Linked DNA regions of Homo sapiens: all the other regions are linked to region 6. The links are contacts of gene promoters, found by promoter capture Hi-C in blood cells and fetal thymus (Javierre and others, 2016). All regions are on one chromosome and are shown on one strand. The core of a region is centred on a gene start or on the middle of the fragment in contact, and the rest is flanking DNA. Distances in the headings are between cores, read along the strand shown.

The links. The method cuts DNA at HindIII sites, captures the fragments that hold promoters and counts their contacts. A CHiCAGO score of 5 or more calls a contact.
Region 1: a contact is called between a fragment that was not itself captured here and the fragment with the promoter of LGALS8 in region 6, in 1 of 17 cell types (M0 macrophages). The highest score is 5.5, in M0 macrophages.
Region 2: a fragment that was not itself captured here is called in contact with the fragment with the promoter of LGALS8 in region 6 in 1 of 17 cell types (naive CD4 T cells); the score reaches 5.1 in naive CD4 T cells.
Region 3: a fragment that was not itself captured here is called in contact with the fragment with the promoter of LGALS8 in region 6 in 1 of 17 cell types (naive CD4 T cells); the score reaches 5.7 in naive CD4 T cells.
Region 4: a contact is called between a fragment that was not itself captured here and the fragment with the promoter of LGALS8 in region 6, in 15 of 17 cell types (M0 macrophages, endothelial precursors, M1 macrophages and 12 more). The highest score is 13.8, in M0 macrophages.
Region 5: a contact is called between a fragment that was not itself captured here and the fragment with the promoter of LGALS8 in region 6, in 1 of 17 cell types (M2 macrophages). The highest score is 5.4, in M2 macrophages.
Region 7: the fragment with the promoter of GPR137B here is called in contact with the fragment with the promoter of LGALS8 in region 6 in 16 of 17 cell types (M1 macrophages, M2 macrophages, M0 macrophages and 13 more); the score reaches 17.1 in M1 macrophages.

Annotation. Positions count from the first base shown.
Region 1 is chr1:236,214,476-236,217,175 of GRCh38, forward strand. ERO1B (endoplasmic reticulum oxidoreductase 1 beta) reads right to left here. Exons shown (of 16, transcript NM_019891.4): 16 at 626-2,700. Among named protein-coding and RNA genes, the nearest start is that of ERO1B, 66 kb to the right of the region's middle. The HindIII fragment of the contact is 1,486 bases long and covers 637-2,122 here.
Region 2 is chr1:236,238,460-236,241,344 of GRCh38, forward strand. All of the region lies in intron 6 of ERO1B (endoplasmic reticulum oxidoreductase 1 beta), which reads right to left. It overlaps LOC124904561 (a long non-coding RNA gene), which reads left to right. Exons shown (of 2, transcript XR_007066961.1): 2 at 538-853. Among named protein-coding and RNA genes, the nearest start is that of ERO1B, 42 kb to the right of the region's middle. The HindIII fragment of the contact is 988 bases long and covers 977-1,964 here.
Region 3 is chr1:236,860,690-236,863,617 of GRCh38, forward strand. MTR (5-methyltetrahydrofolate-homocysteine methyltransferase) reads left to right here. Exons shown (of 33, transcript NM_000254.3): 20 at 436-588; 21 at 1,547-1,654; 22 at 2,765-2,865. Among named protein-coding and RNA genes, the nearest start is that of MTR, 67 kb to the left of the region's middle. The HindIII fragment of the contact is 917 bases long and covers 1,221-2,137 here.
Region 4 is chr1:236,121,393-236,124,251 of GRCh38, forward strand. No RefSeq gene overlaps it. Among named protein-coding and RNA genes, the nearest start is that of GPR137B, 20 kb to the right of the region's middle. The HindIII fragment of the contact is 1,341 bases long and covers 598-1,938 here.
Region 5 is chr1:236,039,321-236,042,326 of GRCh38, forward strand. It overlaps NID1 (nidogen 1), which reads right to left. Exons shown (of 20, transcript NM_002508.3): 4 at 2,590-2,972. Among named protein-coding and RNA genes, the nearest start is that of NID1, 24 kb to the right of the region's middle. The HindIII fragment of the contact is 950 bases long and covers 1,239-2,188 here.
Region 6 is chr1:236,522,473-236,525,343 of GRCh38, forward strand. LGALS8 (galectin 8) reads left to right here and starts at 1,510. Exons shown (of 10, transcript NM_201544.4): 1 at 1,510-1,589. It overlaps LGALS8-AS1 (LGALS8 antisense RNA 1), which reads right to left and starts at 2,036. Exons shown (of 1, transcript NR_034040.1): 1 at 597-2,036. RefSeq lists a silencer at 1,803-1,852. The HindIII fragment of the contact is 5,952 bases long and covers 1-2,871 here.
Region 7 is chr1:236,141,280-236,144,192 of GRCh38, forward strand. It overlaps GPR137B (G protein-coupled receptor 137B), which reads left to right and starts at 1,260. Exons shown (of 7, transcript NM_003272.4): 1 at 1,260-1,757. The coding sequence starts at 1,344. RefSeq lists silencers at 999-1,178, 1,249-1,518 and an enhancer at 1,484-1,987. The HindIII fragment of the contact is 3,564 bases long and covers 1-1,467 here.

The DNA of each region.
Region 1 (2,700 bases), core at 130-2,629, 310 kb before region 6:
TCTACATTGGTAATGTTGCAGGTTAGCAAGTACTATCATAAATTTTAGATGGTATGTGAATTGATGACTACCCCTATGAAGGACAATATGCCAATATCTTTCAAAATTATAAATGCACACAGTCTTTGCCCCCAAAATTCTTATCTTTGGGAATTTATTCTACAGGTACAATATTTATATAAATGTGAAATGACATATGTACAAGGTCTGGAAACAACCCAGCTGCCCATTAATAGAGGACGGGTTAATTCAACACTGGCACATTCACATAACAGAATACCAAGTATCTACTTCAAAAAATGAGAAAACTATCTAGTCATATGTGAAGACTGCCAAGAAATACTAGGTGAAAAAAATGAAGTCGTATGTATATGATGTCAATTTTTGAGTAAAAATGAGAGAAAAAATAAGACTTTCCATTTGTATATGTTTGTACCTGTCTACAACAGTGTGAATGGAAACCTAAGAAACCAAGAGCACAGGCTATTCATGGTGGGAGATGAGTGTGCAGTGGAGGAAGCTGGGCCAAGGACACAGGAACACATTCACTGAATAACTTTTTATATTGTTTGTTTCTTTTAACCATGTGAATGTATTACCTATTCAAAAAATTAAATAAGATAAGCATATTTTATAAGCTTTATGATTCAATACAAATCAAACAATGCTTTTAATTGTTCCCACTTTGTAGCTGAATGGAAATAGGCCAACTTACAAAATGTCACAAAGGTTCTAGAATCAGTCTTTCTCGTCTCAAATTCTTGCTCCACAACCTAGAATTTGTGACTATGGACAGGTTACTTAGCCTTTTTTATCCTCAGTCTTCTTACTTATAAAACAGAGAAGTAATTGTACCTACCTACTAGTGCTATTGTGAAGATTAACGGTGTATTCTTTTAAAGCCAAACTATGCATGTAAAAGCCCTTAATACAATGCCAGCCAATGCTTGCCATTATGATAAGAAACAACCTCAGACTACTTATAAATACATTTTCTCCCTTCTCCACAGGTTACAATCAAATTCTCATGCCATAAAAAGAAACACTTAAAATAGCGGGGAAAAACAAGACAGAAAAGATTGCAGAAACATGTACTTTAATTCACATTTTCTAGATTCTGGTGGGTACAACAGTAAATTATTTGGAATTCTGTTCAAAATCAAAGCTGCACCTGTAGATATTCCTTAAAATACAGTACACATAGATTTGTGTGTGTGTTTTTTTACCAAATAATTTCCACGATACCATGCACCTAATCTGTGTATTTTGGTGAGTAGCTATGGTTTCTGCAGGTACCTCAGTTTGCAAACTACTGAGAGGTTTACTGTGAACTGTTCCCAAATTTTCAGCTGAAGGCAATGCTGATGAAGATCAAAATAGCTGTCCTTTCTTATATACAGTGGCACATAGGCAAAGTTGAAAAACATGGCAGAGTTTCATATACATACAGAGATTACAAATATCGAATAATTCACAATGTTAAAAATGTCAAAATAAAACGTTTTGACTTATCAAATTTCAAAAGTGTGGAGTCTTATTCTGTCTGATCCTCCTCATAATCTAAGAATCAAAACAGGAGAAACATTCAAAGTTTACCAATTTTAATATATAGTTTGTCTAACTTACATAGATGCCACTTAAGTAAAAAATAAACTTACGCCATTGAAGGAAGGAATATTTTCCTTTTCTTCATTTTCATTACTTCATCAGTGGGTACAATCATTTCTGTCAGTTATATTATCAAGTGCTGGGTTTTTAAATTAGGTGATGAGATAAAGACAAAATGCCAGAGCACCAGCAAAGCATTTTTACAATGCAAACAGTACTCTAGTATAATATCACTTCACGACAAAAGATGTGAATTGGAAAAACAGTTTAGATCACAAGAACCATAAAATGTCACCAGGCTCACACAATCATTTAAGAAATAAAAACACATACACAAAAATGTAGGCTGCCCCTACAATCTAATTTATGATAAAATAAGATGAATTTCAGCCTAAGAATACTTCATTTATTTTCTTAGTTGTGAAAAAATTAGTTAAGAACCTTAAAAAGAACTTTTTACTCTAACCAGATCTTTTAATTTCCTAGAACATACTCTAATATACTAGTTTTCCTAAGCTTGAAACAAATCACAGTACAGAAAAAAACAATAAATGGACATGAGCGAGGATTTTCTCCAGTAAACAGTTTAAATAATAGCCTTTAACTGAGGGAGTGGTGAAATAACACTATCAAAAAGTTCTTTACATTTAGAGTGATAAACAAAGTGCAGATTTTTCACATCTTAAACTCTGAGTGAATACTAAGAATAATTCTTACTAATTTACTAGTTAAATTAATTGGATAGTCACTTTTTAGACAGTTTGCCTTAAGGCCCCCCTCCCCCACCATACAATACTTGCAACCCTCAAGAAAAAGTAGAGGAGGCTCCAATCAAGTCAGCCTTTTAAACAACTTAACAAAAAATACTACCACCATCAACAACAAAACCCCAAGTTTATAAAGGTTTGAAATTAGGTGAGAAAATAAATAACTCTGAGACCTTAATACCCCCACCACATCCCACCAAGAGATGGCTAAGTATTTTTAAGAGGGGTGAGCCAAGCCAACTAAATACAATTTTTTAGATGTCACCAAATCATCAATGAACACATTTCAGACTTTGACAGGATAAAATATGGATTTAAGAGCACT
Region 2 (2,885 bases), core at 221-2,720, 280 kb before region 6:
CCCAGGAGTCGGAGGCTGCAGTGAACTATGATGGCACCACTACACTCCACCCTGGGCAACAGCCTTTTTTTTTTTTTTTTTAAAAAAAAAAAGAAAGTATGGCTTTTAGGAAAGAAAAAAAATCTTAAAATTCAGTATTTAATTTCTAAGTTGTATAGTTTTAATCTCCATAAGCTGCTCTTGAATAAATTCATCTGCAAAACTGAATTATATATAAGCTTCACAATATAACATTAATTTATGTTCTCTGACACATATATATTATATATTTATAAATAATTTGTGTATGTGTGTGTACATGTAGGACTACATGTGTATAGAATCCTCTACAAACGTGCAAATTGGACTAGTACCAACCTCTTTTCCCAAGAAAACCAACCAAATAACCAATAAAGAAGAAAAACCATGATTCAGATATTAAACCATGATGATTTAAAATATACTTTAAGGGAGCTAAAAAATCACAAGAGGAAAATCAATTATATCAGGTTTTTCATTGTTCTTTTTTAAGAAAAGTGGTCTTACTTTGTTGTGCAGGCTGGACTCGAACTCCTGAGCTCAAGCAAGCCTCCTGCCTCAGCCTCCCAAGTAGCTGGGACTCCAGGTGCTCACCACGACACACAGCTCAATTACATCAGGTTTTATAACTACTTAAGTAAAACTTACATTTTCAATGTTCTTAATGTTTATTCCCTTAGTTTAATCAATACTTTTTAAAAAAATCTTGTAATACTTTTTCAAATCATGAAAAGAGTGGGTTTTGTTAACCTATACAAGGAGTTTGCAAACTACAGCTTGTGTGCCAAATCTGGCCTGCTGCTTATTTTTGTAAATAAAGTTTTCATGGAACACAGCCATGTTCATTTGTTTACATACTGCTTTCACACTATTATGGCAGAGATGAGTAATTCCAACAGAGACCCTATAGTCAGTCTATAAAGCCTAAAATAGTTACCATTAGTCCATTTTCTTAAAAAGCTTACCAACCTCTGCTCTATACTGACAAGAATTTCATGGGACATCCAGAGTGAGCAACGTGTGTGGCAGAAAGCATCTACAGGCCAAGTTCTCTACAAACACACTAGCTGGTAGTGCCCATCCTTATCCCTGGGCCATCTGTGACACTGATTTTCATTTGTTCAACTGAAACTTGTCTCAGTTTGCACAGCTGCGTCATTCATTCAGATAATTCTCTCTAAATTATCTGGCCCTCTACTATGACCCTCTCCCACAAAAGTTTTATCTTCTTTCTGCCTCTACAAAGCAGCTTCATAATTCCTTATTCTTGGAATTCATGAAGTTGAACTAGTGTTATTTCCTCCTCTTCAAGTATATATATATATATATGTGTGTATATATATATGTGTATATATATGTGTATATATATATGTGTATATATGTATATATATATGTGTATATGTGTGTGTGTGTGTATATATATATATATATATATTTTTTTTTTTTGCGATGAGGCTGACTCTGTTGAGCAGTGGGGAGTGCAATGGCATGGTCTCAGCTCAATGCAACCTCTGCCTGTCGGGTTCAAGCAATTCTCCTGCCTCAGCCTCCCATGTAGCTGGGACTACAGACATGTACCACCACGCCTGGCTAGTTTTTGTATTATTAGTAGAGGCAGGGTTTTGCCATGTTGGCCAAGCCAGTCTCAAACTCCTAACTTCAGGTGATTCACCTGCCTCAGCCTCCCAAAGTGCTGGGATTACAGGCATGGGCCACCGTGCCTGGCCTTAAGTATACGATTTTTTTCTAACTGAATTTCCTTTCCACTGTCCTAATTTAATAGAGTTATGAGGTCATACCACATTTTCTAGGATGTTAAACTTTCCTCCCTACTTCCTAACTCATATATCTCTTAAACATTAATGGTAGCATACAGAACAACTTAGTGTGCAAGCTCTTTGCTACGGTCACAGATAAAAAAATACTGTATTATAGACTCAGGATTAAGCTTAAAGCCCTCCATCACCAACCCTACCCCAAACTGCTACTAACTCACTATTAAAACATGATTTACAGTCAAGGAGAAGCTACAGTTTATAAAGCTCTCAAAAAATTTTGATACACAACCAGATTTAGAAACTACTGTTTTAAACATTAAATTTATTAATGAACATATTTTAAGGGAAAAAATAAAACTAAAAATCTATCATGCTATTTAGGCTTTTTATGAACCAACTAGTTCATTCAGCAAGTATTTACTAAGCATCTACCACGTCCAGGCACCATTCTAGGCACTAGGGATACATTAGTGAACCAAAAACAAAGCCCTTGCCCTCAAATAGCTCACAATCTAGCTGGGGAAGACTGACAAGAAACCGATACACTCAATAATATGCCATATACTGTCAGACAGTTGTTAGTGCTTGGGCAGGGTGGGGGCCATCAAAGCAAAGGGACAGGGAGTGATAGTGGCTACTATCTTACACAGCGAGATGAGAGCAGGCTTTTCTGATAAAGTGACATTTGAGGAGAAACATGAACAAGAAGCAAGCCATGATAAAGACAGTAACAACAACAACAAAAAAGAGTGGTAGGGAAAGCAGTTTACCTTAAAGGATATTAAATTACTAAATTATTTTAAAAACTACTATTTGATCTATAGGGATCATCTTCCATTCAAATGAAGTCATTATCAACAGCAAAACAGCAGGAAATGGACATATTCCCTAGTAAACTGGGTGAATATTCTTTATATTTTTGTTTTAATCCACTGAATTTGGGAAACAGCAATAACTAAACAATGATTCTAAAGCTACCCTGACAGTAATTTTAAAAACTACTATAGGCCAGGCACGGTGGCTGATGGCTGTAATCCCAGCACTGTGGGAGGCCAAGGCAGACGGATCACCTGAGGTCAGGAGTTTGAG
Region 3 (2,928 bases), core at 429-2,928, 340 kb after region 6:
AACACGAAGATACAAAATGGATTTTATGCATTTGAACTTATTAGTCCTTCTCTGTTAGCACATTTTACTGAGGTATATTTTAAAGCATTTTTTAATTGGCATATAAAATTGTATGTATTTACTGCATACAACATTCTGTTTTGGAAGTGTATGAGGTATTTACTTTGTTTGTATCAATAAAGCCAGCTAAGCACTTTATCTCAATCCTCAAAATAAACATATGAGATACTATTGTAATATTCTAATTGAGGAAACTGAGGCTTATTGAATTGCCTAAATTAGTGATAGGAAGCCAGATTGAGTCCATGCACTCTGCTTCTGGAACCTGTGCTGTTAGGCATTTTCATGATGGCTCTGTGGAGGTAAGGCAGTTTTTTAGGTGATTTTTTTTTTCTTTCTTTCTTTTTCTTTTTTTTTTTTTTTTGTCTTTTTTAGGGCATTGAAAAACATATTATTGAGGATACTGAGGAAGCCAGGTTAAACCAAAAAAAATATCCCCGACCTCTCAATATAATTGAAGGACCCCTGATGAATGGAATGAAAATTGTTGGTGATCTTTTTGGAGCTGGAAAAATGTTTCTACCTCAGGTTAGCAAAATATGGGGAGAAATTTTCACAGTTGCATCTTTTCTTTGTCATTTAATAAATGGCGATTTGGGATATATTTCTCAGGTTTTAATTTGGACAAGAGTTCAATGGTATTGGCTAGTCATTCCTTCTCTAAATATGTTTAGGAGTCATGTCTGCAAGAATCCGTCTTCAGAGTGGTGTGGATGTTGGAAATCCGAAAATTCTTAGCATCATAATCTATCATAATCCTTATGTTCTAATTTTTGTATCACCTCTTACCCCCAGTGCCTATCTCTCCCCTCCAAAAGTAAAGTAAAACCCAAGATAAATGTAGAGTTACTAACATTAAGACTTGATTTGACCAGGCACTGTTCATCTGTAAGGATGCATATTTTGAGACAAATGTTACTGTTTTAAATGACGGTACATTAAGTGGTTTGTTTAAAGTAAAACCAGAACTCTTACTTTGATTTACAGCAGCTGCTAACCACATCAGTTAACACATACTTGTTGAGCATGTAGGTTAGTGGCTGTGCGGCATTTGAGAAACTAAAAGGCCTTCATCTTGCCTTAATGTAAGACTGGATTTTAAGTGAGTTTTAAAGCTGGGGATTGAGAAGAGAAGGCTGGGAATGAGCTCATGGTGGAGAAGCTTTGGTCCTGAAGGATACATAGAACTCTTGGATAAAAGATAGAGGGCCTCCTAGACAGAGGAAAAAAAAACAAGCCAAAGTTCAGAAGACAGAAATTGCAACATTTGATTTCCAGCCTTGTTTTCCTTCTGCTGTACCTTATTATTCACTGGCTTTCCCTCTGGGGAGCTTATCCTTTGTTCTGCCTACTGTCAAAAGACTCCAGTGTAGCTGTCCTGAAGTCAAAGCATGCATTCCTAATGTGTGCCCAAATTTCACAAGTGGCCATCAGCAGTTGTTCCTGTGGTTTGGGAAAGATACCTGATCTATGCTTTTTTTCTCAGGTTATAAAGTCAGCCCGGGTTATGAAGAAGGCTGTTGGCCACCTTATCCCTTTCATGGAAAAAGAAAGAGAAGAAACCAGAGTGCTTAACGGCACAGTAGAAGAAGAGGCAAGTCATTTTGTTCAGGCCTATGGGCCTTTAGTGGGTTGACCTGGAAGACTTGAGGTGGTGGTAGGGGCCTAAGCAGTCAGGGTTGGCTGTGTTCGTTATTGAGGATAAAATAGAGAAATGATCCCACATCTCTCCCTTTTTTAACCGAGTATCAGAATACTCTGGGACTTTCTTTTGAATGTAGCTTTATAACATTTTTAATATAGATACAATTTTTCAATCAAAACCCATGTTTTCAAGACAAAGCCAGTTCATTCATTTGTGCCTTCATTACCTGATCATTTACGAAGCTGCTGTGATGTGCCAAGTACTGTGCCAGGCACTGCTCACTCAAAGGTCTGTCCCCGCCCTTGAGGTCATTGAGTCATGCTTGTTTTTAGAAAACTCTTAACTGAATAGTCTTTCTGCTGGTGATGTCCTTGGCACCACTTCTGGATTCAATTTAATTCTTGTTGGCTGCACCACCAGAGTAAATCATTAAGCTTTTTGACCTTGTTTAGCTCCCTGTGAAGCTCAGACAGCTTTGGCCCCTAGGATTCTGAATTTTTAAATTGATCTGTTTGTGAATGGCTCAGACAAACACAGAGTTTATAAAAATCCTTCTTGTTTTGCTTTTTTTCTTTTTTTGGGGCAGTAGTGGGGGATGCTAACTGTGCATAGAACAACAGTGCTGAGGAAAGATACTCACGTGCCCTCTGTCTGGGCTGTTGTGGTTTTTCAGATTCAGATGGGACATACACATACAGTTAACCTGTTCCTTCCCCTCTCCCCTGCCTCTCCCTTAATGGCTAACCGTAAACATTTGTCAAATAAGTTCCCCCGCACCCAGAGTTAAGGATGTGGTCTTCAGCTGTGGTGCTGTTTTGTGTGTGAACATCAACTATTCTTTGAAAGGATGGGACCTCCTGATCTTGGCTGAAGCCCCTTGGGCTAGCCCATTAGGTGGGCCTCCTTTGAACTGTTTGGGCTTCGGTTTCCAGGTCTGTCTTTGAGGTGCTCTTGGTTGTATTGAATTGCTTTCTGTGCTGGCCCCTGCCTGGCTCTGGAGAACTAGGTGTTCCACCCTAAACAACCCTGCCTTGCTGAGCTGCTTGGCTTCCTTTCCAGGACCCTTACCAGGGCACCATCGTGCTGGCCACTGTTAAAGGCGACGTGCACGACATAGGCAAGAACATAGTTGGAGTAGTCCTTGGCTGCAATAATTTCCGGTAAGTTAGGACCTCACCTCTTTCAACCCCTTTTCCATTTAAAAATGAAAGCCTTTTAACAGA
Region 4 (2,859 bases), core at 18-2,517, 400 kb before region 6:
GATTCAACATCAATGACTCCAGGACCATGGTCTGTCTCCACGAGACTAGTCTACCCACCTCGATTCTCTGCCTGGTAGGCCTTCCCCACTTTTCCACCTGCTAAATCAATCACACCTGGTTGCATCTCTCCTTCTTTCCTCCCCTAACCCAAGACTCTTTTTTGTTGTTGTTGTTTTGGAGATGGAGTTTGCTGTTGTTGCCCAGGCTGGAGTGCAGCGGCACGACCTCGGCTCACCACAGCCTCTGCCTCCCGGGTTCAAGCGATTCTCCTGCCTCAGCCTCCCGAGTAGCTGGGATTACAGGCACGCGCCACCATGCCCAGCTAATTTTTGTATTATTAGTAGAGATGGGGTTTCACCATGTTGCCCAGGGTGGTCTTGAACTCCTGACCTCAGGTGATCCACCCGCCTCAGCCTCCCAAAATGCTGGGATTACAGGCGTGAGCCACCATGCCCGGCCATATCCCATGACTCTCTAAAGCACTCTGTGGTTGTTTCTGGGTTATTTTCACTTCTCCAATTAGGAGGTAAGTTTTTTGGGGTCAAAGAGCATGTTTTCGACTTTGTTTTCATCCTATCCCAAATTGCCTGGTACCAAGCTTGGTAGCTGATGAGCCAACAGGGAACCCACGAATGACATTGTATTAGAAGACCACAGGCTTTGGGCTCAAGGAATGACCCTTCCCTTTTACAGTCCTGTCCACACCTCAACAGCCCTCTCGTAGCTCGGTGGATCTCAGCTGAATGTCAATGAGCCAGAGCTTCCCCTGACCACCCAAGCCCAAGTGTTGTCCCTGGCTATTCCTCCTCGTAGCATCTCTTTTTCCTCTTCATCGGACTTACTACAACGTGTACTCATAGGCTCATTTGAGTATCTACCTTATTTTCTCCACTAAAATGTGAACCCCAAGAGGCCAGGGACCATGGGCATTTTGACTCAAAACATATTCTTTGAATGACTTTAACAGAAACTTCCATCAACTTCTCAAAGGGCCAACCACATACGCAGTGAAGAGGGTTTCAAATGATGAATCAGGGACTTTTCCCTGTGTTCAGGCGTGAACCCCGACTCACCATGGGGTCGTATCCACATGCTCTCTCTTGACCTCAGTTCTTTACTTGCAAAGTAAGGATCATGGTTCTAGTCCCATTTACTCTCATAGGCTCTTGCCTGGAGAAAGTGAAATCATTTTAGCCTTGCTGTGTTGTTAAAGCCAAGGCCTAATGCCAACGTGACTAGTTATAAGCCCCTTGAGGAGGGGCTCATGTCTGACAAACACTCTGTCTCTCTGTCCCTCTCAACATAATTTTTGTGAACAGGCCAAGTAGATAAACAACTCAAAAAAATAAAAATATACAAAATGCATACAGTGACAACGTTCCCTTGCTCCTCTGTCCACACCTCCCCAGGTCCCACCCTTAACCATTACTATTGGTTTTATTCATAGCATTCCAGAGTTTATTTTTTTTTTTTATTTTATTTTACTTTATTTTCTGAGATGGAGTCTTGCTCTGTTGCCCAGGCTGGAGTGCAGTGGCCCTATCTCGGCTCACTGCAAACTCTGCCTCCCGGATTCCAGCAATTCTCCTGCCTAAGCCTGTCGAGTAGCTGGGACTACAGGCGCCCGCCACTATGCCTGGCTAATTTTTGTATTTTTAGTAGAGACGGGGTTTTGCCACGTTAGCCAGACTGGTCTCGAACTCCTGACCTTGGGTGATCCACCCGCCTCGGCCTCCCAAACTGCTGGGATTACAGACGTGAGCCACTGCGCCTGGCTGCCATTTTAAAATATACAATTAAACCATTATGGACCACAGTCCTCAGTGTGTGATCAAATACTCAGTATTATTCACTCTTTCTATTTTCCAGAGTTTCTATATCTGCCTACAAGTAACCATGAAAGCACTTCCCCTACAGGATCATGTCTTACCCTTGCAAGCTTTCCAACTGTCTTGCTCCATGCCCAACACCAGGTAAATCTTTAGTAAATTCAGTACATTTAGTAAATCTGTTGGTGGATTTGATTAACTAATGATCTTGAAACCAACACATTGGACAAGCAACAAGGTGAGTTTGCAATGTGTGTTACAGACGGATGAAAGCACACGCTGAACAGGGCCTACTCCAGTGAACCATCATCTGCCTGCATCTTTCCTGTTCCAGTCCAAGACCAATCCGGATACTTGGGCCTTGTTTTGTTTTGCTCTTCCTGGGAAGTGTCAGTTCATTGGTCGTTACAAGGATAATAGGAGTTACTTCCTGACTGCATGAAAAGTACATAGAACAGAGCCTGGCACAGAGAGAGAAGCCAATGAGCAGCAGGAATGATGATCACAGGCAATCTTCCCTTCCGCCACCACTCACCTCAGATGACCTGGTGAGCCTTGTGTCACAGGCTGGGTACTTCCCCCGGAATTCACATGTTGAAGCTCTAACCCGCAGTACCCAGAATGTGACTGTATTTGGAGAGAGGGCCTTCTCTCCAAATAGAAGGAGGTAATTAAGGTAAAATGAGGCCATTAGTGTGGGTCCTAATCGGATATGACTGGTCCTGATGAGAAGTGGAGATTAGGATACTGACACACACAGAGGGAAGCCCATGTGAGGACCCAGGGGAGGGAGGCTGTCTGTGACCAAGGAGAGTGGCATCAGGAGAAACCAGCCCTGCCAACGCCTTGGCCTCCAACTTTCAGCTTCCAGAACTGGAGATTTGTGTCATTCAAGCCTCCCAGTCTGTGGCACTTTGTCATGGCAGCTCAAGCCGACTAGCACACCTTGCCTAGCCCTGCTTTTCTCAAATATGTTCAACTAGAGAAGTTGTCTTGATTGTTTAGAGCCAAGCCCTGTGCTGCTACAAG
Region 5 (3,006 bases), core at 464-2,963, 480 kb before region 6:
CTCCTTCCTCTGCCTCCCAAGTAGCTGGGACTGCAGGCGGGTGCCATTGTGCCTGGCTTATATTCTTTTTAATTTTAAATCACCTCCCACCCCACCCCAACATACACTTTTCCCTGAGGAATAATTTGGAAGCACTTATACTCAAAAGCTGAACAAAAATAATGCCCTAGTCACACCTGGGCTAAAAAGCCTTTGACCCAAGAAAGAAAAAGAACATCTCCCTATTTTAAATTTCCACATTCCAACTTTGTTTTATTAGAATCATGAACTAGCTCATTATATTTAATAATCCCGAGCAAATTAATTTGGAATGAAATTCAAAAGCACAAGAGGGGTAAACTTTCAGAGAAGATAATGATCCCATTCATAATTGACTGTTACGAGTGAAGAGAAAAGCAAAGTTTAAACCCAGGTAGACTCTATGAGTCCTACATACTCGGAAGGGAATTTCTGGCTTTATAAAGACAGCGTTTGGAGCCGAGCACACTTGAGCCCTGAACTGAACACGTGATGCCGCTGATTACTTAAACTCCAGCTGTGGGCAGAGCTCTCAGGGGTCATTATGGCCTGTGTACATGTGAACTATTCAAATAACACCAGGAATGCACTACTGGCCACAGAAGACTGACCTTTCTCTTCAACATAGGGAAATAACTGGGGTAGAGGGACAGGAAAACATCTGTTTTAGACACAATCTGCGTTCAAATCTAGGCTTTTTTCAGTCTTAAGTAATACACTGCCCCAAGTTGTTGGGCTGGATATGGTCTCATTCAAATGTGATGGCTTCACAAATGAGAATTTCAGAGACACCTAGAAAGGGTGGAGACAGGATGGAACTCAAAACCCAACATATGCAAGGAAACACACCCAACACATCTGGGGGAGATGACTCCAAAACCCACGGCAGAGTGGCATGTGCTGAGCAATGTAAGCATCACCCCAGGAACCCAGGGTGCAGTAGGAGAACCTAAGACATGAGCCCCTGTCCTTGTCCTGCCACCAAATGGCAGCTTCTCCATTTCCGTGCCTCAGAAGTAAGTCAGCACGCCAGCCAGTAAGCACCCCATCTCGTCCACAGTTTGGGATACTCGTGAGAACAAGCGTGTATGGCTACTGCTGTGAGATAAATCAGAACAAGTAAGGGCAAATAAAAATGAGTGAACAGTGTGGAATGGGCCAGACTTCTCTAAGAGTTTTATGATCATTCCTTAGTAGAAAAGCAGCAGACAGCTGCAATAAGCTTATCTAAAGGCTTGGACTATCCCATTTATATGAGTCTTAGTGGATTCCGTATCAAACTAATGTGAAAAAAAAATAATGAGGACAGTTTAGTTGGAACATCTTTTTTTTTTTTTTTCTTGAGACAGAGTCTTGCTCTTGCCAACCAGGCTGGAGGGCAATGGAGCGATCTCGGCTCACTGCAACCTCCACCTCTCAGGTTCGAGCGATTCTCTGGCCTCAGCCTCCAGATTGGCTGGGATTACAGATGCCTGCCACCACGCCTGGCTAATGTTTTGCATTTTTAGTAGAGGCAGGATTTCACCATGTTGTCCAGGCTGGTCTCCAACTCCTGACCTCAGGTGATGCACCCGCCTTGGCCTCCCAAAGTGCTGGGATAACAGGCATGAGCCACTGTGCCTGGCTAGAACATCTTTTATAAGAAAAATGAAAGCATCCAGGAGTTCTATTTTCCCTCAAAATGTAGCAAAAATCTGATATAACATAGTTGACCAGAAAATGTACTGTAAAACTTTTTTTTTCTTTTCGAGGCAGAGACTCACTCTGTTGCCAGGCTGGAGTGCAGTGGCATGATCTCGGCTCACTGCAACCTCTGCCTCCCAGGTTCAAGCAATCCTCCTGCCTCAGCCTCCCAAGTAGCTAGGACTACAGGCGTGTGTCACCACGCCCAGCTAATTTTTGTATTTTTAGTAGAGATGGGGTTTCACCATGTTGGCCAGGATGGTCTCAATCTCTTGAGCTTGTGATCCACCTGCCTCGGCCTCCCAAAGTGCTGGGATTACAGGTGTGAGCCACCACCCCCGACCCTATTTTTTTTTAAAGAGTATCTACTTTGATATATATATATTTTTTAATCTTCACAAACCAACTCTGAAACTGACGGGACCTGGGAAGAAAAATAATCAACAATTCTAATTCCAAAACCAAGAGGAAATAAATGTCAAAGATAAGCTTCATAGACAGCCAAAAGAACTTCTAAAATGTTTTTTCAGGTGGATGAATACATTTCTGATCTGAGAAATCACAAGAAAATCTGACTTTCAAAACAATTCTAACGGACGTTTTCTCTTTAAAACAGACAGAACGGAATACTAGGAAACTTGAAAGAAGACACACTCAACAGTCTCCAAAACCATGGTCCTAATCCCAAAAGATCACTGAGCATCTCTGAAGCCACTGGGCATATAACACCAAGGCTCCACGGCTGTGAGAGTTCAGCCTCTACTTTCCCAAGCTCTTATCTTTACAAACCACCATGTAATGCTCACAACTGACATCTCCCCAGCAGTACGCCTGTCTGGAAGCCCACACATCCAAGATCGTTACCAACTGCAACTTAAATGGTCTTACCAACTCCTGTTTCCTCAACTTCATCCACATCTATGACCTGAGGGTGCTGCTGGTGAAAAGTCTCCACTGCCAACTGGAAAGACCTGGTTCTCTCTGTGGGAGGTCCAAGGGGCCTTTCGGTAGCTGCCCGGCGCGGGGAGAGGACGCTGGGCACACTGTATGTGTCAGCACCTCCCCTTCTCAGAGCCTTGTAGGAGAAGGGCGTGGTGCCCACATCCTCCAGGCCCAGACGAGTGGTCGCCAGGTCATAATCTTCATCCTCATCATCATACTCTGCCCCATCTTCAGTTCCGAGGATCACGTCTGCAGGCACCACGCCATTGGTGGTGGCTGGACTCCCAATCTCAAACACCCAGACACCCTGCTGCCCAGAGTTACTACTCCTAGGAGGAAGGACAGGCTTCTTAGAAACAGGCC
Region 6 (2,871 bases), core at 260-2,759:
GTGTGCGTCTATAGTCCCAGCTACTCCTGGGGCTGAGGTGGGAGGATCACTTGAGGGAAACCCTGTCTCAAAGTGGCGGGGCTGGGGGGAGACTCAGGCAGAATTGTGAAGATATTCAATTGCTCCTGACTTTATCAATAATCTAACATTTCAACCTAACATTGATATCTATTTTATGCAAAGCATTACACTATGCACTGGAGACTGTATAAGACAAGTTCCTTTTCTCAAACTACAGTCGAGTTGGATAGATAAAACACACAACACATACCAAAAGACAGCTATAAATCCAAGGCAGTGTATGTCAAGGGTAAATTCACCTATTCAGATTGGATCTTGAGAAGTGCATCAGGCTTGGAAAATGGGTAAGGAGGAGAGAAAAGCAACAGTGAATCAGAACATGAGTTCCCAGTTATGGGACTTGTAATGAATTCCTCAATTAAAACAAAAAATAATGAAAACAAAAGCCAGGGAGGAGAAAGCCCACGTTAATGACACTAAAATATATCTTTCCAAACAAATGTGGATAAAAGCCAAGTAGAGAAGATGAGAACTTTGAGGTCCCTAACAGAAAATAAACAGTAAGCAGCCAGCCATTCCAAGTGGCTGACATGACTTTGTTTAACTTTATTTGTATTTCTGGCTGGTGTGTTTACAGCCAATAGGTCAAACTATCAGTCAGTGTAGGGCCCTGAGAAGTCGGGTATTTAAGAGCATCTAATAGGCACAGAATTGTGCTCCATACTGCTTAAACTGTTCCCTAAGTGTCCAATTTGGAGAAAACACCCACACGCAGGATAACTGGCGAGTGACGCGGAGTGGCTGCGAGTCCAAGTTATCACTAACGGATGGGGAGCTTGGGCTGGGCACAGTCCAGCGTACTGAACCCTTCCCCCACCGTTTCACCTGCATACAGAGGTGTGTACTGTCAAAAAGCAGCGCCTCCAAGTCTCTTCTGGCACTGTCTGGACTTGGATCCGAGGCAGACGAGGAAGCTGAGAAAACCCTGGCGTTGACCCCGTGGACCTGGGCGCCCCGGGAAGGCCAGCGCTTGGTCCAGGCAGGCGGGGCCTGTGCGGTGACCACCCTGGTCCTGAAAAGTCCCAGCCCCGAGCGCCCTCCCTCCTAGACCTGGAGGCCTGGAACAGCCAGGTGGACGTCGGCCCACCTTTCTTTTCTTTCCTTCCCATTTTCCTACCACCTCCCACCCCACTCCGCCTTCCGGGCAAAGGCAGCCAGATCCACCCAGGACACATTCTTTGTCCTTATCCCTCTGTGCTCGTCCCACAGCAAGCCAGTCGCGGTCCAAGGCTCCAGAGGCTGTGCAGGAGGCCGAGCTGGGTGGCGATCAGCGGCGGGTCCCTGTCCAAAACCCAGCAGAGCCGCCAGGGACGCCCCAGACACAGAAGGCGGGGCGCGGGGAGGGTGGGGAGACCACAGCAGTGAGGCGCGCGAGCCGGGAAGTGAACGAGGACTGACTCCTGTCGCTTCCCGTAGCCGCCCACGGACGCCAGAGCCGGGAACCCTGACGGCACTTAGCTGCTGACAAACAACCTGCTCCGTGGAGCGCCTGAAACACCAGTCTTTGGGTGAGTCGCGCGACCCCCGGCCTCGGGTGGCGGGGCAGTCGCTAGAGGCGTGGCTGCTCTGAGGGTCTCGCCAGTGGAGGATGGCATTCGGATGTCACGGCTCCTAAATCACCATTTGATGGGTGGGACAGTGTCCAGTCCACCCCGACCCGCCGGTCCTCACCGCGGCAGAGCCGGGGCTGGGTGGCGGGGACGCTGCCTCTGCAGGCGAGGCGCTCCGGGGCATAAGGGATTATCAGGAGTCGCGGCCTTTCTTGGACATCCCTGGCTGGGGTCAGGCTGTTTGCCCTGGGGTGTCTCCTCGCTGCAAACCCACCCCACCTGGGCTGCTTTCTCACCTGTTCCCTCCTAGCCTGAGGCCGAGCGCCACCTCCAAGTGGAGGAATCTGGGGAAGTTTCCTTCCCGGAATTTGTAGTGACAGTGGAGTGACCTCCATTGCGTTCCCTGCCTCTAACACGCTCTTTAGGATGCCGAGTCATTTGACTGCAGTGTTAAACATTGCAAAGCGCAAGTCATGTGACTTCCTTTGACCGTACGTGAAACTTAAGTGATGGCTGCTTGTGATGCATACGAAGTGTTCATGCTGGCGGGACCTGTCCCTGGGGATACTTCGGGGGTTGCGTGATTTAATGCAAGCAGATGGCTTAAATTGGGTCACTGGCTTGTTATTATACATGTGTATGGCAACTCGGCATCCATTCTTTTTGCTCTTGTTCTTACTTCCTGAATTGAGTCACGGAGCCAGAGTTTTGAGGTTTTGACTAACGAATTAAGTTAATGACATGGGGCTATATTTAGGTGGTAAACCAAGAGGGATACAGTTTTTTTTCTTAATAAAGAAAAAGTGATAGATTTGATCGGTGTGTATTGTTGGTGTGCAGTATAATGACAGAATTGCTGGAAGTAAAATACAGGAAGCTCTGGTTTCATTTCCCCTTTAGTTCTGCTTAAAGTCGAGTTTTTCCTGGAGCTATTAAATGTAGTGTAGTGTCCATGAGTGCTTTTATCTTAAAAAATGTGGCTGATGCTTTCCAACACTCCCCTGCCCTGTGATTATTATTTTTTTAAGCAACAGAGAAAACCGTATCTTAATAGTATTAAAAGTATTGGATTTTTCCCTACTTTGATTTGTTTAAATTGGAGGAGGAAGAGCAATTCTTTCTATTCACAATAATAATAGCTAACATAGCGCTTACTCTTTCGCTGTTTTATTAACTCAATCCTCAGAACAAACCAATGATGTGAATACTGTAATTCTCATTTTATGGAAATGAAAATCTA
Region 7 (2,913 bases), core at 10-2,509, 380 kb before region 6:
GAAAAAGAACACACAATTAGGCACGAAGTGGAGTAAGAAAAGAAATCACAATTACTGGAGCCTCGGAAATCCGAGTTTCTTCTGTTTACCAGAACCGCTTGCCCAGCAATGTTTCCAGAGGGCGCCCGGCTTTCCCTCTTTTCCCAGAGCACTCCCCAGCTCTCCCAAGACAAGGGTGGCGTGGTGCCCCGGGGCAAAGACTAAGTCGCTGTACAGCCTCGAGGAGCGAGCTGCTCAGCAAAAGCAAAAGAGAAGGGCTCTCGGGTGGCGGGGACAGACCCTCCTTCGGCATGGGTTGGATCGGACAAGGGGGGCCGTGTGCCGTCAGCTGCCCCACTTCTCTCTGAAGCCCAGTGGGCTCCATCCACTGACCCGCGGCCCGCGCGCCTCCCGGCACCGGCTACATCGCTGGGAGGTGAGGCGCTGGGAGCGCGTGAGGCTCTCCGGGAGAAAACAGCCCAGCTTGCATCCCAGAGGAGGCAGCAGCCGCAGGCACCGTCTATTTCCTCACTCAGTATACAAATTTGACCTCAAAAATACGAACCCTGTCTTTGGCATGTCTGCATTTAGAAATAAACATCATTCCAGACGCCGGCCAGTTCATAGCCACAGAGTCGTAAAGTTTTATTTTTAAAGGGGGGGACGGAAAGGACTTGTAAAGTTTTTTTTTTAAATTTGTTTTTAAATAAAGGAATTAACTTCTGCAAAACAAGCAATCAGCAGCAGAATGCGCGAGGCCACGAGTGCGATCCCCCGAGGCGCGGGGCGCGGCTGGGAAGTTTTGGGGGCGCGCGGCGCGGTGCCGGGACCGGGGAGGAGGCGCGCGGTTCTGGGGGCGCGCAGTGCGGGAGCGCGCGGCCCCGGGGATGGGGAAGGGGCCGGGGACGGGTAGCGCGCGGCCCCTGGGATGGGGAGGGGGCGGGAAGGGGGGAAGAGACGCGGGGCTCTGGGGGCCCGCAGTCTGGGAGCGCGCGGCCCCGGGGATGGGGAGGGGGCCGGGAGGAGGCGTGCGGCTCTGGGGGCGCGCACTGCGGGAGCGCGCGGTGGCGAGGATAGGGCGGGCCGGGGTTCGCGGGGCGAAGGCGCGCGGTGCCCGGGGGAGGGCGGGCCGGGGCGCGCGGGCCGGGGCGGGGGCGCGCGGGCCGGGGCGGGGGCGCGCGGGGCCGGTCGGCGCGCGGGGGCGGCGGGCGCGGCGCTGCCAATCGCAGACAAAGGCCGTCCCAGTGAATCATGTGGTGCCGGGGGAGGAAGTGCGGCTTGTTTTCTTTCCTCCAGTCTCGGGGCTGCAGGCTGAGCGCGATGCGCGGAGACCCCCGCGGGGGCGGCGGCGGCCGTGAGCCCCGATGAGGCCCGAGCGTCCCCGGCCGCGCGGCAGCGCCCCCGGCCCGATGGAGACCCCGCCGTGGGACCCAGCCCGCAACGACTCGCTGCCGCCCACGCTGACCCCGGCCGTGCCCCCCTACGTGAAGCTTGGCCTCACCGTCGTCTACACCGTGTTCTACGCGCTGCTCTTCGTGTTCATCTACGTGCAGCTCTGGCTGGTGCTGCGTTACCGCCACAAGCGGCTCAGCTACCAGAGCGTCTTCCTCTTTCTCTGCCTCTTCTGGGCCTCCCTGCGGACCGTCCTCTTCTCCTTCTACTTCAAAGACTTCGTGGCGGCCAATTCGCTCAGCCCCTTCGTCTTCTGGCTGCTCTACTGCTTCCCTGTGTGCCTGCAGTTTTTCACCCTCACGCTGATGAACTTGTACTTCACGCAGGTGAGTTTCAGAGAGGCTCCTGGAGGCGCTCACCTGGCGGGGTGGTCCCCGCGGGGCGCCCGAGGCAGGGGCGATGGCAGCCGCGGGGGCGGGTCCGGCCCTAGGGCTGAGAGTGTAGGGAGAAGGCGCCGGCTCTGGGGTCGTCCGAACCCTGTCCTGTTTGCGGGCATTTGTCATAGGAAACCCCCTGCCATTCCCAAAAGGGGCAAGGAGAAGGCAGGGGAGGGCTGGAGGCCGCCGCTCACTCGCTGCCCCTGGCTCCGCATCGTGCGGTGGATTCGGGGCGCTTCTCCGTGCGCAGCGCGAAGCAGCAGCGCCTGCACACGCCAGTTAGTACGGATGGAAGGTGTGCCCCCAAGGGAGGCCTGAACTCTAGAATTTGCCCTGCCTCCCCAGGCACCTAACTCCCGGCCTGGAAAGGTCTTCTGCACGTTGGCCTCCAGATTTGGGCCTGACACTGCTGTTTTGAGCGTTGGCAGGGTGAGACCATGTTGGTTTTGATGAGATGTTTTGAACCTCCGGCTTAGGAGCTCTACAGAACTGCGGCTTACTAACTCATTCCACCGGATTGCTAAACAGCAGGCTGGGGTAACACCCAGCTCCGAGCTGCTGCCGCTCATCAGAGTTACTGTCTGAGCTCATCTGAGAGGCCCCAAGAAAAGGCCATAAAAGCTGACTGGGGCTCTTTTACAGCCACACAAAAATCACTTTATGGGGCATATTATTAAATAAGCTAATGGGAGAGTATGTGAATTAACTTGGCTGCTGCTTTACTGCTGATGGTTGACTTAATGAAAGTGCAGTAATTGTTGAGCACTTTGCAAATACTTTGTATAGCGTTGCACAAAGGTTTAATAACGCGGTGCCGCCGTCATCATCGTCATCATCATCTCTGATTCCCATTAGCTTTCCAAGCACTAAGATGTCCATTTTCACTAGGACTCTGCCGAAGGGGAAGGCGTCAACGGTGTCACCTGGTGAGGGTAATTTCAGAACTGTCGGATGGGCAGAAACCCTGTGCAAGCAGGCATCTCATTCCTTTTAAGTGTCTTTTTTTTTTTTTTTGAGAAAAAGTCACTTATTTAAAAAAAGAAAGAGGCCGTATGCGGTGGCGCATGCCTGTCATCCCAGCATTGTGGAGGCGGAGGCGGGAGGA